2 separate regions of the Homo sapiens genome follow, and region 1 is linked to region 2. The links are contacts of gene promoters, found by promoter capture Hi-C in blood cells and fetal thymus (Javierre and others, 2016). All regions are on one chromosome and are shown on one strand. The core of a region is centred on a gene start or on the middle of the fragment in contact, and the rest is flanking DNA. Distances in the headings are between cores, read along the strand shown.

The links. Contacts are between HindIII fragments. The CHiCAGO score rates a contact against its expected background, and 5 or more counts as called.
Region 1: a contact is called between a fragment that was not itself captured here and the fragment with the promoter of EIF5A2 in region 2, in 1 of 17 cell types (total CD8 T cells). The highest score is 5.6, in total CD8 T cells.

The regions. Positions count from the first base shown.
Region 1 is chr3:169,808,023-169,811,881 of GRCh38, forward strand. LRRC34 (leucine rich repeat containing 34) reads right to left here. Exons shown (of 11, transcript NM_001172779.2): 2 at 606-723. Among named protein-coding and RNA genes, the nearest start is that of LRRIQ4, 2.9 kb to the right of the region's middle. RefSeq lists an enhancer at 390-534 and a cis regulatory region at 462. The HindIII fragment of the contact is 228 bases long and covers 2,496-2,723 here.
Region 2 is chr3:170,906,407-170,910,484 of GRCh38, forward strand. EIF5A2 (eukaryotic translation initiation factor 5A2) reads right to left here and starts at 2,231. Exons shown (of 5, transcript NM_020390.6): 1 at 2,137-2,231; 2 at 1,236-1,435; 3 at 583-687. The coding sequence starts at 1,400. RefSeq lists a silencer at 1,752-1,891. The HindIII fragment of the contact is 11,425 bases long and covers 1-4,078 here.

The DNA of each region.
Region 1 (3,859 bases), core at 1,360-3,859, 1.1 Mb before region 2:
CCAGCTCAGGTTAGGCGTGGTGGTTCACGCCTGTAATCCCAGCACTTTGGGAGGCCAAGGCGGGCTGATCACCTGAGGTCAGAAGTTCGAGACCAGCCTGGCCAACATGGTGAAACCCTGTCTCTACTAAAAAATACAAAAATTAGCCGGGCATGGTGGCGAGCACCTGTAATCCCAGCTGCTCGGGAGGCCAAGGCAGGAGAATTGCTTGAACCCAGGAGGCTGAGTTTGCAGTGAGCCGAGATCACGCCACTGCACTCTAGCCTGGGCGACAGAGGGAGGCACCATCTCAGAAAAAAAAAAAAAAAAAAAAGATTCACCCTGCCCACAAACAAAAAAAAAAGATTCACCCCACCCACAGAAGTTAAAGATCACTCTGGAGCCCAAGCTTGGGTACTCCTGGTCTAGTGCTCTTTCCTGAATACTATACCACCTCTAAGACCTACTAACAGTGTTGCTCGTGTACTTACTTACCTGAATCAAATGGTATGTTCATTTTACCAAGCATTTTCAAATGGCTATAAAATCACTCAATATGTTAGGATTTTCACACACATGAATATAAGCAAACACTATTAATGTAATCAAGTATTTGTCTTTCTTACCCCTTTTTAATTTCTTCATCCACTTCTTGGAGTATATGCAATATAAAAGGATTAATTTTCTGGGATTTTTCCATACACAGATTAGAATAATGTTTCTGGAGACCAGATTCTGGAGATTCTGAAAAATATATGCATCCTCTATCACATATAAATTATTCTAGAAGCTTTAAAAAAAACCATAAAAACTACCTCTTTCAAATATATGAGTTGTATGTGTGTATAGTGGGGGTAGGGAAGAAAAGGAAACAGAATTAAGGTTAGAAAAAGAGAAGAGAAATAAAAATAATGAATGGGAGAGATAATTAAAATGCTGTTTGGAGAACTAGGGCCATTGAAGCACCCATTGAGGCTTGGCAGACACTGGCTCAAGTGAGCACCCTACGTTGGAAGTGACATAAAGGGAGAACTAAGCTCCATTATGTGCCAGGCCTGGTAGCTGAGGAAAATGACTTCCAAAGAAATTGTATATTTTGTCCAAAACCATGCAGCTAATAAAGGCAGAGTGCAGAATCAAACTGATTCCAAAACCTCTTTCCACTGTGCCCTAATGGGTTACAGGGACTCAAGGTTTCTTTTTTTTTTTTTTTTTTTTCAACTCAGTATCTCAGCATCCACGAGAGGAAAAGGTTTCTTAAAATAGCTTCACATAAAAACAATTTTATCTAATAACCTAACTCAAAAGGGATCTGATAAAGCACCTACTCCCACAAGCTTCTTGGATACCCTCTACACCATCCCAAGTTTGAATGTAACTGTCATTTCTTCATACCAAATCGAGGCCTGGCTCACAGAAGCTCTTCTCCTACCCAGCCTTCCATTTCCTCTTTCTAAAGGTGACTTTTCCCTAAGTTCTTAAGAAGACAGACACAAAGCAGGAGTTGAGATCTCCTTTCTGTTATACATGCAGATTTCCTTAATGACCTTGCTGTTCTCAGTAATACCTCAAAAGCATCTTCTGCAAGGCCTACATCTTCTGGGGTGGAAGTTATGCTGTTACTTTTCTTAGAAGTACAGGCCACTGTCTTTGTTTTCTATACATCTACCTTTTGTGGATGTCTTTTAAAAATTTGTGCACAGAGATCTCATTGCTCAACCAGCCTAGCTTTTTAGGAGCTGGCTTCTCTTCTAAGTCTCTACATCTCAGAAATGTTGTTTACTGAGTGTCCTTTGCACTCTGAAGAATAATGAGTTTGCTAAACGGATCTGCAGAACGAGATTTAACATGAGGAACATTACATTTCAGATGAAAGCAAACAAAATTTTCTTATAGTTTTTAATAACCTTTTTAAAAATAAATTTAATATACTTATTCCAGACAATTTGGAAATTTCTTTTTTTTTTTTTTTTGAGATAGGTTCTTGATCTGCCACCCAAGCTGGAGAGCAGGAGCGCAATCTCGGCTCACTGCAACCTCTGCCTCCCGGGTTCAAGCGATTCTCCTGCCTCAGCCTCCCGAGTAGCTGGGACTACAGGCACACACCACCACACCCAGCTATAAAGACGGGGTTTCACCATGTTGGCCAGGCTGGTCTCAAACTCCTGACCTCAAGTGATCAGCCTGCCTCAGCCTCCCAAAGTGCTGGGATTACAGGTGAGCCACTGAGCCCGACCGGAAATTTCTAACATTAAAAAAAAATACATGTTAATCTGCAATCCCACTGCCAAAGAACAACCACAATTGAGGTCTAGGCATACATACTTCCTATAGTTTTTCTTTTATATGCATATTAAGTATTTTTTAAACAAAATTGGAATCTTTGGATATAACTTTATATGCTGTTTTTTAAATTAACATTATATTGTAAGCAGTTTTCCCATGTCACTAGATATTCTCTGAAAAATTTAAATAGCATAATTTCTGTCATGTGGATAGATGTACGTATTAAAAAAAGCTTCACCTATTTTAGAAAATTTTCATGTATTTAAATGATATTGTAGCACAATATTTCCCAAACTGTATTTTGTGGAATATGCATGTTCTACAGGATGATCAAAGGTGTTCCAAATAGAATAGGTCTTATTATCAAGTAAGTCTGAGAAGTACTAAAATAAACAAAACTATACACAGACACAACACTTCTCAGGGCATTTAAAACGTGCACACTCTGCAAACTGTTAAGCTTGAGAATAGGGAGGATAAGAATGCTGCATTTCCGGCCGGGTGCGGTGGCTTACGCCTGTAATCCCAGCACTTTGGGAGGCCGAGGCGAGCGGATCACTTGAGGCCAGGAGTTCGAGACCAGCCTGGCCAATATGGTGAAACCCTATCTCTACCAAAAATACAAAAATTAGCTGGTGTGGTGGCGCATGCCTGTAGTCCCAGCTACTTCGGAGGCTGAGGCGACAGAATCGCTTGAATGCGGGAGGTGGAGGTTACAAGGTTGCAGTGGGCAGAGATCGCGCCACTGCACTCCAGCCTGGGCGACAGAGGAGACTCCATCTCAAAAACAAAACAAAACAAAAACCTCACTTGGAATGCAATCTAGAAAATGCTGCTTTAGCGTCCTCCCCAGGAAACAAAGCAAGTAGATCCCAAATAGAAGTTGGAGCTGGGCTCCCACTGGGCTTCTTTCTTCCCTACTGTCTTCCTTGGTATTAAGAGAAAAATTGCCCTGAGAATCTCCGAGGGCACAGAAATGTGTCAGACTACAATTCATTTTCGCGAAGGCATGAAGGAATCTTAGACTACGAGCTAAATACAGCTAAACAAAGTTATGGAAATATTCTTATTTAACAAGCTAGCCAGAGATTTACAGTATTTAAAAGTTTCTGCTACCCTTCCTTTGATTTAAAATTCACCTACGTATTTTGTATGCCAGGATTTTGTGGCACCAATGAATTTATTTCCTATATTGTATTCATATTAGAAGGAAAATAGCCTTCAAATTGTAAAGCAAAAACTAGGAAATAACCCAGCTACGCAGGAAAATGTCAAGAACCTAACCCAAATTTCATTTTTTCATCCACGCCTCTGGCAGCCACGTTTTAACAATTTCCAGAGAGAGGACTTACTTAGGAGGTAGATCCCTCCAAAACATGCTTTTCTATACTTAGCCAAGCACTGGGAAATCTAAGCGATAAGCATGAGTCAGAACGTGGGTGCCCTATCCAGAATCCGCAGTGTGTACATTTGAACAAGTTGTTATGCCAGCTTAAATTTCCTCTCATGCTAAAGGCAGAGCCTAACACTGCCCATCTCCTGGATGCAGTATTATTAAGCCAGCCTCCGAACACAGTTCCGTATCCACAAACAG
Region 2 (4,078 bases), core at 981-3,480:
AGCATGGTCACTAAGTATAATTTAACCAATTATATAGTTTTTGTGTTTTCTTCACCATACTCAGTGACCAGGTACTTTATCCTTTATATTTATGGCTTTCAACTTATTTCTCTACTTAAGAATGTCAAGTTCTGACTAACATTCATTAATGCAAAAACTTGGTAGGAACATGAATTTCAGTAGTTTCTTGAATGTCTCAGGTCTGATCAGTGAAAAGAAACAAAACATCCAGGAGGGATGTTTTAAATTAGAACAAGAAATATTTTACAACAGAGAGAATAGTACTTTTACTAAACATTGGACTTAATTGCAATATGCAGTCACTTGGCCTGAGAACACTAATAAGTATTTGACTTTTTAAAAAATGCAAGAATGTGAAAAAAATAGCAAACTAGCAATAATCCTAGAAAAGTACATGTGTTAAACATCACTATTTCTCCAATTTCTAAGATAGCTGGTGCCTAATAATTGGTTAGAAAAACCTACAAAACTACTCTTGGGTTTTGTCAAATTATTACTGATAGTACAAAGTATTTGCACCTTGAAGAAACAAGCAACATTCTAAAGAAAATCAGTGCTTACTTGATAATCATTTCTCTTAATATTTGGAACATCCATGTTGTGAGTAGAAGGACAAATATCTTCATATTTTTTGCCCGTGAAAATATCAATTCCAACAAGGTGAACCTAACAGAGGAGAACAGGAAACCTGTTTAATCTCTGCCAAGTATATCACTCATTACACACACAAGAGCACAATACCAATGCTGATTACAACAGATTCTTTTTCTCCTCCTTCCAAGGTCATCTAATTTTACTTAAAAAAAAATGTAGTGGTCTTACAATTAAGAGGCAGTAAACAACTAAACAGTATCACGACATGTCAAGACCCAATATAGACCAGTGATTCAATTATGAGATTACACAAGAAAAATAAAGTGTAGATTTCTTAGAATTGCTAGAACAGGTTTTCTCATCTGTAAACTAAATAGATCTTATAGGTCACTAGGATTCAGGAAAGTTTCAGTTCCCAGTTAATGAACATTGTAAGGGCCCAAGAAGGGAATGCTACCTTTAAGTATTCAACGTAATAACTGATTACCCAGTAATTGTGGGAAGGAAAAAATAGTGCTTATTACAAAATTTTAAGTATAGAAATCTCATGATCTGTAACGGAATACAAATGATCAAAGTCCCAACGCCGAAGCCAAAGCCTGATCTGCAAGGGTACTTACCTTGGCATGACCATGCTTTCCAGTTTTGGAAGTTGACATCTCCACTATTTTGCATGGTCGTCCTTTGAGCACCACGAAGCCGTTTTTGCGCAAGGCCGAGCACTGCATAGGGTAAGTGCTGGAAGCCCCGGCATCTCCAGTAGTGAAATCAATTTCGTCTGCCATGGTGGGCAGGGGAGATGGTAGTTTTTCCGTGGGAACTACACAAAAAGTTTGTGTTTGCTTTTTAACAACGGGTATGTAGGCAGGGAAACGTCTCATTTCGGACAAGTTATGTGCCAAGCATCATGGGCCCGTTATTTCTGCATGTAAGGAACACCCACCCTAGACTAGTGGCCACTTTCTAACTCTGGCCTCTACAAACTTTTCCAGCTACTGCTTGGGGAGGTGGGATGAGAAGTCGCAGAGGAGCTCGCTGAGGGTGGGGACACCCGCCCTGGGCGCTCCTCCGTGCTGGAAACAGCAGGTTGCGGCCCCCATCGCCCCACCGCAGAAGCCGGCGACCTTCCCCCGCCGCCCAGCCCTCGGCCGCCGCCCCGAACCCTACTGCGGGGGACCCAGCCCAGGCCGCAGGTCCCCGCGAAGGATGCGGGGTAACAGAACCTGGCCAGCAGCACCCGGCCCTCTGCTAGCTGGCGCGCACCCCGCCCTCCACCCTTCAACGTCGCCGCCGCGGCCGCACAGGCGCCCCCTGTTCTGCCGGCATCCAGGGCTCAGCTCGGCCCGGCCCGGCCCCACTAGGGCCTGAGCCCCGGCGGGTCCCGCGCTCGCCTCTGTTCCCCCATCCATTCTCCTTCTTTCTCTCGGTCAGCGCTCAGTTCTGGGCGCCTTCCCCGGCCCTGCCTCACTCTGGCCCCATCCCCACCAGCTTTTCCCCACCAGCTTTTCCCCAGGTCTTCACCTTTCAGCTGGCAAAGAGCGCCTTTCGTCTGCGCACCCGCGCTGGTCCCCTACAGCAGCGGCGCCGGCAGCGGCGGTGGCGGCCGCGGCAGTTCCAAGAGACGGGGCGGGGCCGCCACACTTTCCACACCCCAGCCTCCCCGCCCTTACCCGCCCCCACTCAGCCCTATTTCCGGGATAGGCCCCGGAGCGTCACAGGCACCGCCCTCTCGGGCTACCATTGGCTACCAGATTCCCGAGGCTCCGCCCAGTCACGTGAAGAGCGCCCTGGCAACCCCACGTGCTGCGGATTAGTGCACTTCCGGCGTGGAGCGCACTTTCAGCAGTCTGGTTGCCGAGGGTGAGCTCGCTGGCAGAGGAACTTGCGCCTTCCAACTCTTAGGTTTGTTGCGTTCGGGTCGCAGTCGACTTTAATGGGAACCAAGCAAAGCACCCAATGGCCCCTGCCATCAGGTGCGTGGCAGTTATCACATGACGATCGTCAGAACTCGCGAGGCGCGCAGATTCAGCGAGTGCCAGTGTGGCTGGCTGTGAAGCGAACTTTGGGTTCGAGCTTCTGGTTCAGCTTGCAGCCTTTCTTGGGGTTCGAACCTCCTCCTGGTCCTTAAAGAAGAATTCAGGTGCAGTATTTTATTACCCAGCTCGGCACCGCAGGTCCTGAGGACCCCCCATTCACCCCTTGGTGAGATTTTTGGCAGCGACTGCCGCCGGATGCCCCTGTAGAGTCAGCACTGCTCCCTGGGGTGGGAACTCCCGAAGCGTCCGCCAGCTAACAAGCCAGCAGTGAAATGAATTAACCCACTTCTCACACCAAAGGCTGTTGGGAAGTTGTGGAGGCGAAGGGTGTCTGACTCCTACGGCATTGTGGGTCCAGAGAGGTGTTCTGCCGACTCATCCATTCTTTCCTCCTGGCATTGGCATTCCTTAGAGTTTGGGGTTTAACCCTGGCACATTAGAACGCTTGGATGGTCTTCAAAATTGACCTAGAGCTTGTAGACTGCCATAGAAAGGTTCTTAAAAGAGATGTGCTCCCCCTTCACAGTTTCATTTCGCAACCTACCGCAGTATCCTATCTTGGGGAGGTGATCTAGGAAATTATTTCCCATCCCACACCCGCATTTATGTGGTAACTTTGATTTCCTATTGCTGTCTCATGAATAATCCCATATCTCACATTCCTGTATGACTCTACAGTTTACACATATCTTTCAAACAGGTCCAATTTAACTTTCGCAATAAGTTACTGCCCTCTCATGTACTGAATTCAGCCTCTAGCTAATATACAAAGGAGCCATTACAGCAGTGGCTCATGCCTGTAATCCCAGCACGTTGGGAGGCTGAGGCAGGTGGGTTCCCTGAGCTCAGGAGTTCGAGATCAGCCTGGGCAGCATCGTGAAACCCCGTCTCTACCAAAAATACGAAAACTTAGCTGGGCATGGTGCTGTGCACCTGTGGTCCCAGCTACTAGGGAGGTTGAGGTGGGAGGATCACTTGAGCCTGGGAGGTGGAGACTGCAGTGAGCCGAGATCCGGCCACTGTACTCCAACCTGGCTGACAGAGTGAGACCACCCCCCCCACCCCCAACACCCCAAAAAGAAAGAGCCAGATTAGAATCTTGGTTCATTAGCTCTTTCTGCTTTTCCTTATACCTCCTAACTTTTCCCTATTGTTTTTACAATGATCGCTAATAGTATTTAGTATTTATATAGGCAGGTAGTGTACTAAATTTTTGATGTGCATTATTCCTTTGTTTGTCACTGCTGCTTTCTATTTTTAACCTTGTTAAGTTATTCATATAAAGAAAAATTTGTCCCTTTTCTTTTTATGAGTTTTGAAAAACATATCTTGATCATCTGCTATGATCAAGATATGGAATATTTCCCTCATTCCAAAAGTTTTCTAGTGGCTTTTTGTTCTCAGTTTCCTCCCTCTACACCCAGCCC